Linked DNA regions of Homo sapiens: all the other regions are linked to region 3. Evidence: promoter capture Hi-C in 16 types of primary human blood cells and fetal thymus (Javierre and others, 2016). All regions are on one chromosome and are shown on one strand. Each heading gives the region's core, a stretch centred on a gene start or on the middle of the fragment in contact. The rest is flanking DNA. Distances are from core to core; before and after follow the strand shown.

Region 1 (3,467 bases), core at 623-3,122, 1.4 Mb after region 3:
CAGGGACACAGCAGCAGCCAGAAGCCTTGGCAAGATGCTGAAGGCCACCACTCAAAGGGACAGATTTGTCATCAAATCATTGGCAAGCGGGAGCTGAGGCCTGTGGCCTTGAGCTCTACTCCTTGTACCCATTAAAAGGCGCCTCTTGGATGCAGGCTGAACAGTTGGCTCCTCAGTCCCCAGTTCTCGAGTACAACAACCATGACCACGACCACGACTGCAACCTCGACCTTGACCTTGACCACGACCACGACCACGACCAGAACCCCAGCTTCCAGTGGAAGGGAGAAGAACCCTGGCTGACATCCCCAGGGTAAGTGACTGGGTCTGGGTATGATATGCAGAGCTTTGGAATGCGGATCCAGGCACAGCATCAGTGCCACAGCCTTTTGGGTTGTAACAGTGCCCTGAGGACACAGGCTGTGTGGGACACTGGGCTGTGAGGTTTGGGAGAAGCCTCAGGCCCAGAGCAGCTCTTCTAAGTACTATATCATCTCTCCAGTTGCTCAGCTCTTGGCTTTCTGCAACCCTGGGCTCTGTGTGTTCCACAATGGCCAAGTCTTGCCTGTGTTTCCAGAGCTCATAACTCTCGGGTTGCACAATGCGCACAAAGGGGTCCATGGAAAAGGTCACTGTCGACTCCCCACAGCTACACTGAGAGGCCATTTTGCCATAATCAATCCATCGTGGAGTGGCAAAATTAATGGCTTCTGCGCAGTTGAAGCCGTGATTGAAGCCAGCATGGTAGCCATAGGGAAAGGTCACCATGAACTCCCCAGCCTCCTGAGTCATGCAATTGAAGGGAATCCCATTTTCCTTGAGAACTGTAGGCGAGATGAGGGCCACTTTGTGCCGCAGGAAGGCCTCACAGCCCCGAGAAATGTCTGGGAAGAGCTCCCTGGCCAGGCGTTCCAGGTGCTGACCATGTTCTGGGGGCACCACGTACCAAGTTTTGGGCTCCCCAAAGTGCAGGTAGTTGATGCTGTAAAGGTCCATGTCCTCTGTGTGCCAGGCAAACGTGGTCTTCCACATGCCAAAGTACAGGTAGGGTGTGTTGACACCCTCGATGACAACCCCACATTCCTGCTCCAACAGGTCCAGAATTGTTCCCAGGTGTCCTAGGTTCCATTGTTTAGTGCTTTCTTCAAATAAGGAGCCGCTGATATCAGCACCATAAATTGGTGGATTACCGGGGTGGCTCTTCCAGTATCGTTGCTCCAAATCTGCAAAATTCTGGTGTGGCGGAGTCTGATATTTTTTACTGTTTGCCAAGCGGCGATACTGCCCCACCCTCATGGCTTTCTTCTTTTTATGGTATTGAGTAAACACACCTCCCTGCCCAGAGGTCACCTGCTGGAGGGGAGTGGCTATTAAGATGTCTTCGATATCATCATACATCTGTCTGGCTTTCCATTCCTTGGGTGGAATTACCTTGGCAAGGCCAGCTTGATGTGCGCCTTGGGACTCCATGTAAGCAACATATGTGTTGAAATCTGCAAATTCTTCCATGGTTGGGTAAAACGTCATGATGGTATGACTCGTGTTCTGGGGACTGGAGTGCACAGACTTCATGGCTGCACACAAGAAGCAGCTGACTCCCACGTTCTTGGGTGTCCTCTAGATGCCTGAGAGTTCTGGGGAGTAATTTCTTTTCTCCCCTTTGTTTTTCAAAATACTTTGGTTTATCTGTGAGACAGTAATTCACACTTGGACTTTTGAACAAGTGAGATCTTTCACAGGCTTTCTGACTCCCCAGGGGGACTCCACTCTAGTCAGTATACTTTTTTCTGAAGAAGTAGAGTATGTCCCAGCTCTGTGAGTTTCCTCAGTTGGGGGTGTCACTGTGAGGCTTCTCCTGATTCTCAGGCTTGGGTGCACTAGTAGCAGCTAGTGTCCCACTGTACCTGGGGGTCTCTTCTAGGAAGTCGAAACAATACACCTAAACAACAACAACAAAAGATACAGAATATTCATATTTTTTAAATAAGTATATAACCAGACAAAAGAAATATTCAGCTAGCATTAAGCTAAGCTAAAACATATGCTAACATCAGGATATGTAAACATTGTCAGGCCTCTGAGCCCAAGCTAAGCCATCATATCCCCAGTGACCTGCACATACACATCCAGATGGCCTGAAGCAACTGAAGATCCACAAAAGAAGTGAAAATAGCCTTAACTGATGACATTCCACCATTGTGATTTGTTTCTGCCCCACCCTAACTGATCAATGTACTTTGTAATCTCCCCCACCCTTACGAAGTTTCTTTATAATCTCCCCCACCCTTAAGAAGTTTCTTTGTAATTCCCCCCACCCTCGAGAATGTACTTTGTGAGATCCACCCCCTGCCCCCAAAACATTGCTCTTAACTCCACCACCTATCCCAAAACCTGTAAGAACTAATGATAATCCCACCACCCTTTGCTGACTCTCTTTTTGGACTTAGCCCGCCTGCACCCAGGAGAAATAAACAGCCTTGTTGCTCACACAAAGCCTCTTTGGGGGTCTCTTGACACGGACACGTGAGACATTTCGTGCCGAAGACCTGGGTCAGCGGGACTCCTTCGGGAGACCAGTCCCCTGTCCTCACCCTCACTCTGTGAAAAGATCCACATACGACCTCCAGTCCTCAGACCAACCAGCCCAAGGAACATCTCACTGATTTTAAATCAGGCAAGCAGCTCTTTTTACTGTCTTCTCCAACCTCTCTCACTATCCCTCAACCTCTTTCTTCTTTCAATCTTGGCGCCACCCTTCAATCTCTTTCTTCTCTTAATTTCAATTCCTTTTATTTTCTGGTAGAGACAAAGGAGACACATTTTATCCCTGGACCCAAAACTCCGGCGCTGGTCACGGACTCGGGAAGGCAGCCTTCCCTTGGTGTTTAATCATTGTGGGGATGTGTCTCTGATTATTCACCCATGTTCCATTGGTGTCTGATCTCCGCATTCACCCACATTATCATTCACCCACATTCCCTTGATGGGCAAATCAACTGTGGGGACAGCTGCTTTGGCTGCTCCCCTACGTTGCAGCTCAGGGCTGCTCCCCACCCCCCTTCTCTGTGTCTCTACCCTTATTTTTTAAACTTGCCTCCTTCACTATGGGCAACCTTCCACCCTCCATTCCTCCTTCTTCTCCCTTAGCCTGTGTTCTCAAGAACTTAAAACCTCTTCAACTCTCACCTGACCCAAAATCTAAGCATCTTATTTTCTTCTGCAACACCACCTGGCCCCAGTACAAACTCGACAATGGTTCTAAATGGCCAGAAAATGGCACTTTTGATTTCTCCATCCTACGAGACCTAGACAATTTTTGTCGAAAAATGGGCAAAAATGGTCTGAGGTGCCCGACATCCAGGCATTCTTTTATACATTGGTCCCTCCCTAGTCTCTGCTCCCAAAGAGACTTGTCCCAAATCTTTTTTCTTTCTCTCCTGTCTGTTCCTTCAGTCTCCACCCCAAGC
Region 2 (3,416 bases), core at 16-2,515, 1.9 Mb after region 3:
GACAGTGGCGGGGCCAGGCCTGAGGGCGGGTCGCCGGGGTGGCTTCTGGGGTAGAGGTAGCCATAAGGCACAAAGACGTCCGAGTCCGCCCGGTAGGAGAGCGTCCAGTTGAAGAGGTTACTTGCCAGGCTTCGCAGCCCCGGGGAGTGCGAGGGCGACTCGAAGTTCATCCAAACCCAGCGCTGGCCCGGGGGCCTGGGGCTGGAGGTCGCCAGGGCTTCTGCCGCCGCCGCTGCCTCCTCGTAGTCCAACACGCGCAGATCCACCTCCTCGGCAGTGTGCGCCTGGATGCCCCAGGGCGGGGGCCAGTCGGGGGGCCCCTTCACGAGGTCGCGGTGGTGGAAAAGCACGGCCTGAGCCTCTCCGTAGGACGCGCGGTCGGTGAGCAGGCGGCAGCCGCTGATGTTGAAGCGCAGCCGGCAGTCAGGGGGCGGCCTCGGGGCGCTATCGCGCCCCCCGAAGGGCTCCCACCACAGCAGCACGCCCACCGGTCGCGACGGGGTTGGCGACGCCCAGGGCAGCGGCGGCAGCTGCCCCCAGCAAGCGTAGGTGATCAGCGCCGTACACGTCAAGCCGGCGGCCGCCAGCACACAGACGGTCCATGGCAGCCCCCGGCCTCGGCGCCACCCGCGCCGCCCGCCCGCCGCCGCCGTCGGCGAGCCCCACGGTGCCCCCATGGCGCGAACAGGCAGCGCTGCCTCCGCTCGCCACGCGTCCGCAGGCGTGGAGGAGCGGCACCGGCTCTCATGCTGTAGCTGCGGCTCCAGCCGTCGCTGCCGCTCGCCGCTGGCCCGGGAATGGAAGGGGGCGGTCCCAGAATGCAAAGGCCGCGGGCCCTGCCCTGCTCCTCCCAAGTGCCGGGCGGGGCGAGCCGCCAGGGCAAGGTGAGCTGGCCAGGACGCCCAACCGGGCACCGCCCGTCCCTTTCTTCCACTGCGCCCGGGGCCCAGCCGGCCCGACCAGGCCCCGGGAGCCTCCTGCGGCGCCTCCGCCCACTCCTTCTCCCAGCCCGCGCCCGAGGGCTTCCGGGCCGCGCCCCACAAGCGCCTCATCCGCTACTCTTGATTCTCTCTCAACTGATCCGGTTTCCCTCTGCGCGCGCCCACCGCCCTGGCCCTCGCTCACTGTGGCCCGAACCCTCGCCTTCCAGAGGGAAGGCCCGGTTCATCCCTGGGAAGGTACAGGAGGCTCGAGACCTTCTAAAGCAGCTGCCGCGCAGGAGCAGGCCCTAGAACAGACGGAAGGCGGACCCGGCGCCGCGGAACGGAGGATAGCGTCGGCTTCCTGCCGTTGGGCCTAGCCACCCGCCAGCGACGCCCGCCGGAGGGAGGGATTGAGGGAGGGAGGGAGTCCAGAGGCCGGGGGAACGTGCGAGCAGAGGCGCGGCCACCGCATCCGTGGCCAGGATCTCGTGGCCCGCCGAGACGGTCGAATTGTGGAGGCAGCCCGCAGCGGCGTGGCCTTCAGAGTCTCTGCATTTGGTGAAGAACTTAAGTTTTCAATGTGAGTGCTCATAAGAACATTTCCTTTGCCTGCCAGCCCAGTAAAGGATAGAGAACAAAATGTTTTCTTAGCAATCAAAACATGTTCTTTCCTTTGGTCCCCTACCAAATAAGTCTGACTTGCCGGCTCATAGTAGTATTGCTTGTACCAAGACGCACAGGACTCATAAACCAAAGATGAAGATGTGACCCCCCCAAGGCCCTTGTCGTCAAGGAATTTATTGCCTGTTCAGTGAGATGAATGAATGAATATCACTATTAATTTTACCAAGCACTTAAAAAACATTTTCTGCACCCATGAAAGTTATGCAAAATAGTTTGGATGATAAAATGATGACGAAGATAAATATTCTAGCACCCAAGTTAAGGGTGTAAAGACAGTATCGCACTGGCCTCTTCTACCTTATTAGGCGACACTGGAGACATCTACGTCTACAGTCACTTGAGAAATTTTTTACCTACGGGTTGAATTTGAATTTCTGGGTGTTCGCTTTGGTTTATGATATTCAACTTTTATTCAGGGGATTTCCAAATAGATCAGGGGCGGGGCTGCTGACCTAAGGAGAGGAGAAAGTTTTGAGAGAAGTTTTAGTAGATCACAGCTGTGCATCAGTGGAGTCCCACTGATACTAGGGGAGAAATAGACAGTGCTGGGAATGGGGCAATCCTGCCAGGTGTTTTTGATGTTATGCCTACAGAAAATAAATTTGCGTTAGCCATATGAATTTAAGAATGTTTTCATTAAAAATCAAGTATAGGCCAGGCGCGGTGGCTCACGCCTATACTCCCAGCACTTTGGGAGGCCGAGGCGGGCGGATCCCGAGGTCAGGAGATCGAGACCATCCTGGCTAACACGGTGAAACTCTGTCTCCACTAAAAATAAAAAAAAATTAGCCAGGCTTGGTGGCGGGCGCCTGTAGTCCCAGCTACTCGGGAAGCTGAGGCAGGAGAATGGCGTCAACCCAGGAGGCGGAGCTTGCAGTGAGCCCAGATCGCGCCACTGCACTCCAGCCTGGGCGACAAAGCGAGACTCCGTCTCGGAAAAAAAAAAAAAAAAATCAAGCATTGTGTGTAAAAGCTTCTATAAAAGTGGCTTCCGGGTGGCGCTCTCTGCAGGGCCACAGCCTCAGTTTGGAGACTAGATGGAGGATGTTAGGTGTTCTGGCTAGGCCCATCAACCTAGTAACATTTCCTCCTGCACAGTAAAACCTTTCATAATGCTTCTGGGGTTTTTTGTTTGTTTGAAAAACAGAAATTAGAAATCAAATATTTTATTTGAAATTAGACATTTCAGTGACTTTTTTCCACTCTTACTTTTAATTAAAAGAAAAAGCTATAAATGCACAAATTACTTGTTTAAACGAAATAAAGGAAAAAGTGTATTGGCTTCTCTTTTTATGCAATTCAAGAATCCAGCCATTTATTCACATTCTTCTCCCTCTTCAGTTAAATAAGACATCACAGATAGAGCCTAACATTGTGTCTGGCACGTGGCCGGTAGGCATTTGGGAAATATTACCCTGCTTGATTGCTTCCTTCCACCACTCCCGATTTTCTCTTAAGCCTCCGAATGTTCCAATTAAGCCATCTTTTTACCTGAAGAATGCCCGAGGTCTCATGCATATCAATTTTCTTTGTGCCCTCTTACCTCGGTAGGGTTGAGACCACAAACTGCCCCTACTATACCCTTATTTGATGTGGGAGGAGGGGATACTAGGTAGTAAGGTGTGTCTGGATGAATGGAAACCAGTCGTGACTTCGCAAATTGCTGGTTGAAGGTCATACGTGATCATTGTGCATCTCATACATGCACAAACATTCACAGGGGACTGGATTGTTCTTATTTTAAAAGAGCCATTGGTAGGGTAGAGGAGAAGGAAAGGGAGGAAAGGAGTTATGGGAAATTAATAAATT
Region 3 (3,662 bases), core at 507-3,006:
CTTGAGACATAGTGTTAGTCTGTTGCTTTTTTTCTAAATTAGGCATTCTCTTTCCATTTTTCATATATTTGTCACTTTCTTATAGATTTATAAGACTTCTTTTATGTGAAAGATGTTAAAAATACACTGCCTTCCTATATATGTTGACACGGTTTCATTTCTTTCTTTTTAAAAAGATCAGTAGTTTAATATTGATTTATTCAATCAATATTAATAAGTGTGCAATAAAATCAACCAAATTCTGCTTACTGGTTTCTGTCTCTGATGTCATACTTGGAAAATCTGCCTTTCTAAGATTATGTAACCATTTATTTTCTTCTATTAATTTTGTTATTTCAATTTTTAATAGCTAAAATATTAACCCATCTGGAATTTGGATGGTGTATGGAATAGGTAAGAATCTAAATTTTTTTAACGATGGATCAATTGTTACAAAATTAGTTTGTATCAAACTCATTCTTTTCTCACCAATTTAGAATATTACTTTCATCATATATGAAATTCTTAAATATAACTTTTTATGGGGTTTCTAATCTCATTGAACTGTCTTTCTCTTCCTCTGCCAATACCAGGTGATTTTAATTTTAATTGTGTTTGTCTTTACTCATCTTCTTTCTTCATTTTCCTCAGAAAAAAAGGTTTAGCTCTTCTCTAAAATTTAATTATTAAAATTAACTTTAGAGCCACGTTGCAAAGTTGGGATTCCAATGGGAATTGCATTCTATTTGTGTAGTAATCTGAGGAGAATTTACTTCTTTACAATATTAATATTTCACACCCAAGAACATCCACTTAATCAAGATTCTTTTATGTTCCTCTACTTATTTTGTAGTTCTCTTCAAGAAAGACTTGAACCTTTTCATGAGAGTTATTCCTAAATATTTTCTAACTAAATTTTAAAAAGAGTTAAGATCTTGGTAATCCTGTCCTAATTTCTAAATATGGTCTATGTGCTTCAGCTATAGTCTCCTACACAGTGGTTCTTAAGAACTCTAAACCCTGAGATGAGGGGGAAAATCAATTGTACATCAAAATAGTAAATACTTGGTAATGAAGCAGTGTTACAGATTTTTATTCCGTCATTTCTAAATTTTCTTTATCTTTATATTTAAAAATAAGTTTAACATGTGAATGAGAGACCTATCACTTAAGACCCAAAACTCCCACACTTTCCATTTATGTCAATATATTATACATAGGTGTAGGCACCAAAAATTTTTGTGGTTAGTCACCCAAACTAGATTATAAAGGCTTTAATATTTCCCTGCACCTTTTATTCGTTATTCTTCATGGCTCCTAGTACAATATCATGAAAATAGTAAATGCCCAGTTGATGCCTCCTCAAGGAGTTATCAAGTGAATTGAGTGACTAAAGCAGAAGATGGAAAGAACTACAAAATTTGATGTGGCACATCAAAATAACTTGCGCACTGTTTTGTTTTTAAATTATAATTCTTGTAGGCATGTCTATGTCTTCAACTAGACTATAAGTATGTTGTCACTAGGAGCTGTATCTCATATTCCCTTTATGTATTCTCATATTCCCATCAGAACAACTTAGGGACAAATCATGGATTGATTAAAAATAAAACTTCATATGCTAAAGAACCAAAACCACATAAAAATGTCAAAGAAGACAAAATAGAGAATACATCTGCATCCTAAACAAGCATTTTTAGAGCCATTACCCACATTTTAAATAGGCCAAAGTGTCTCAGTCTGAGGAAAAGGATTATAGCAAAGCAAGCATTGTTTTTGGTGGTGGCAGTAGTCTTCACTTTTTGTTATATTAGAAAGTGCAAGACAATAGTCAGGCGTGGTGGCTCACGCCTGTAATCCCAGCACTTTGGGAGGCCTAGGCAGGTGGATCATTTGAGGTCAGGAGTTCGAGACCAGCCTGACCAATATGGTGAAACCCCATCTCTACTAAAAATACAAAAAGTTAGCTGAGCGTGGTGGTGGGCACCTGTAATCCTAGCTACTTGGGAAGCTGAGGCAGGAGAATCGCTTGAACCCAGGAGGCAGAGGTTGCAGTGAGCCGAGATTGTGCCACTGCCCTCCAGTCTGGGCAACAGAGCGAACTCCGTCTCAAAAAAAAAAAAAAAGAAAAGAAAAGAAAAGAGAAGAAAAAGAAAAAGAAAAAGAAAGAAAAAAAAAGTGCAAGAAAGTAACAAGAATGTTTGTCATTTTTTAAAAATGAAACCTCGGCCGGGCGCGGTGGCTCACGCCTGTAATCCCAACACTTTCGGAGGCCGAGGTGGGCAGATCACGAGGTCAGGAGATCGAGACCATCCTGGCTAACACAGTGAAACCCCATCTCTACTAAAAATACAAAAAATTAGCCGGGCGTGGCGGCAGGCGCTTCCCAGCTACTCGGGAGGCTGAGGCAGGAGAATGACCTGAACCCAGGAGGTGGAGCTTGCAGTGAGTCCAGATCGCGCCACTGCACTCCAGCCTGGGCGACAGAGCGAGACTCAGTCTCAAAAATAATAATAATAAAATAAAATAAAAAATGAAACCTCTAGACAATATATTGTAGAACAGATAGATACAAATGCGGGTCATCTCTTTGTTTTTGCTGAGTCTGATAACATTAAGGTGAACACTGAACAGCCATCTGCTAAGTAATTAAACCTGCCGCTTATTAATGTAACTCTTGTATTAGTTCAGCATTGATGAACAATTTAATGGGTTGAGAAATTGCAGATTCAATTTCCTGTGTCACTACTCTCTCGTGTTCCCATAATCAAGTTAGATATGTTTTTACCCAAAACTATGTTAAATCAAAATAGTGTTAAAAAGAAGAGTCAATATTCTGATATACCACAAGATGGGGATGTTACTCCATCTTAAATGTCCCCATTGCCCTGCTCCCGCATCCCAACCCCTGTTTTGTTTCAAGATATTTAAAACTCTCCTGAAGACTAAATTTGGGTTTTCTTTCTCAAAAATTAAGATTTCAGATCATCTATGTTTCCAAATGAAGTTAGAATCAAACCATCTATAAAACAAAATGGAAACAGGGATATCCACTTTAAAATGTGTCAGGGATACACGCTTTAAAATGAGTGTATCTTTGTTTTTCTGCAGATTATATGCATTTGAATTTTGAACGGAGCTTCATGGTGGGCGTGTGTGTGTGTGTGCGTGTGTGTGTGTGTTTTATTCCGCAGGTGCTTGTTATCCTGTCTCTTCATCCACATGAAAGCCTCCTACATAGTAATTTTGTGAGTCCCTGTAATTGTCTCTCCCTTTTAGCTGTGCTAGTTCACATTTGCAACTCCAGTATGAAGTGAGTATGTGTGTTTGCGTTTCTTTGTCTTGTGAACATGTGACTGTGTCATCCTTTGTTTCTATTCTTCCTTATCTCTTCTGTTTTTCCATTTAAAAAAATCTTAATACAGCAAAGGTATCTGGTAGTCTATAATGATGCTAAAAAATTTCTTTCCTTTCACCCACTATGTCTCTCCATAATAGTCACTAAAGGTCTGATTTTTAAAATTAGTTGTTATTATCAAATTGAATTAGGAAATGAGAATATTTTATATGTTTTATATGCTCCCTGGTGTGTCTTGCATGTATGTGTGTATGTTTATTGATTTTTTTATTCCTCTGGGTGCTTTGTATTTAATATAAGAGGGGTTCCTTATTCAATTGTTTTA

What was found. The method cuts DNA at HindIII sites, captures the fragments that hold promoters and counts their contacts. A CHiCAGO score of 5 or more calls a contact.
Region 1: the fragment with the promoter of KDM4E here is called in contact with a fragment that was not itself captured in region 3 in 4 of 17 cell types (total CD4 T cells, activated CD4 T cells, M2 macrophages and 1 more); the score reaches 6.9 in total CD4 T cells.
Region 2: the fragment with the promoter of FUT4 here is called in contact with a fragment that was not itself captured in region 3 in 1 of 17 cell types (total B cells); the score reaches 7.2 in total B cells.

The regions. Positions count from the first base shown.
Region 1 is chr11:95,023,663-95,027,129 of GRCh38, reverse strand. KDM4E (lysine demethylase 4E) reads right to left here and starts at 1,872. Exons shown (of 1, transcript NM_001161630.1): 1 at 1-1,872. The coding sequence starts at 1,572. The coding sequence ends at 52. The HindIII fragment of the contact is 8,893 bases long and covers 1-3,467 here.
Region 2 is chr11:94,541,770-94,545,185 of GRCh38, reverse strand. FUT4 (fucosyltransferase 4) reads right to left here and starts at 1,265. Exons shown (of 1, transcript NM_002033.4): 1 at 1-1,265. The coding sequence starts at 1,052. RefSeq lists a silencer at 508-1,077. The HindIII fragment of the contact is 5,462 bases long and covers 1-2,582 here.
Region 3 is chr11:96,426,152-96,429,813 of GRCh38, reverse strand. No RefSeq gene overlaps it. Among named protein-coding and RNA genes, the nearest start is that of JRKL, 38 kb to the right of the region's middle. RefSeq lists a silencer at 1,989-2,201. The HindIII fragment of the contact is 4,059 bases long and covers 1-3,662 here.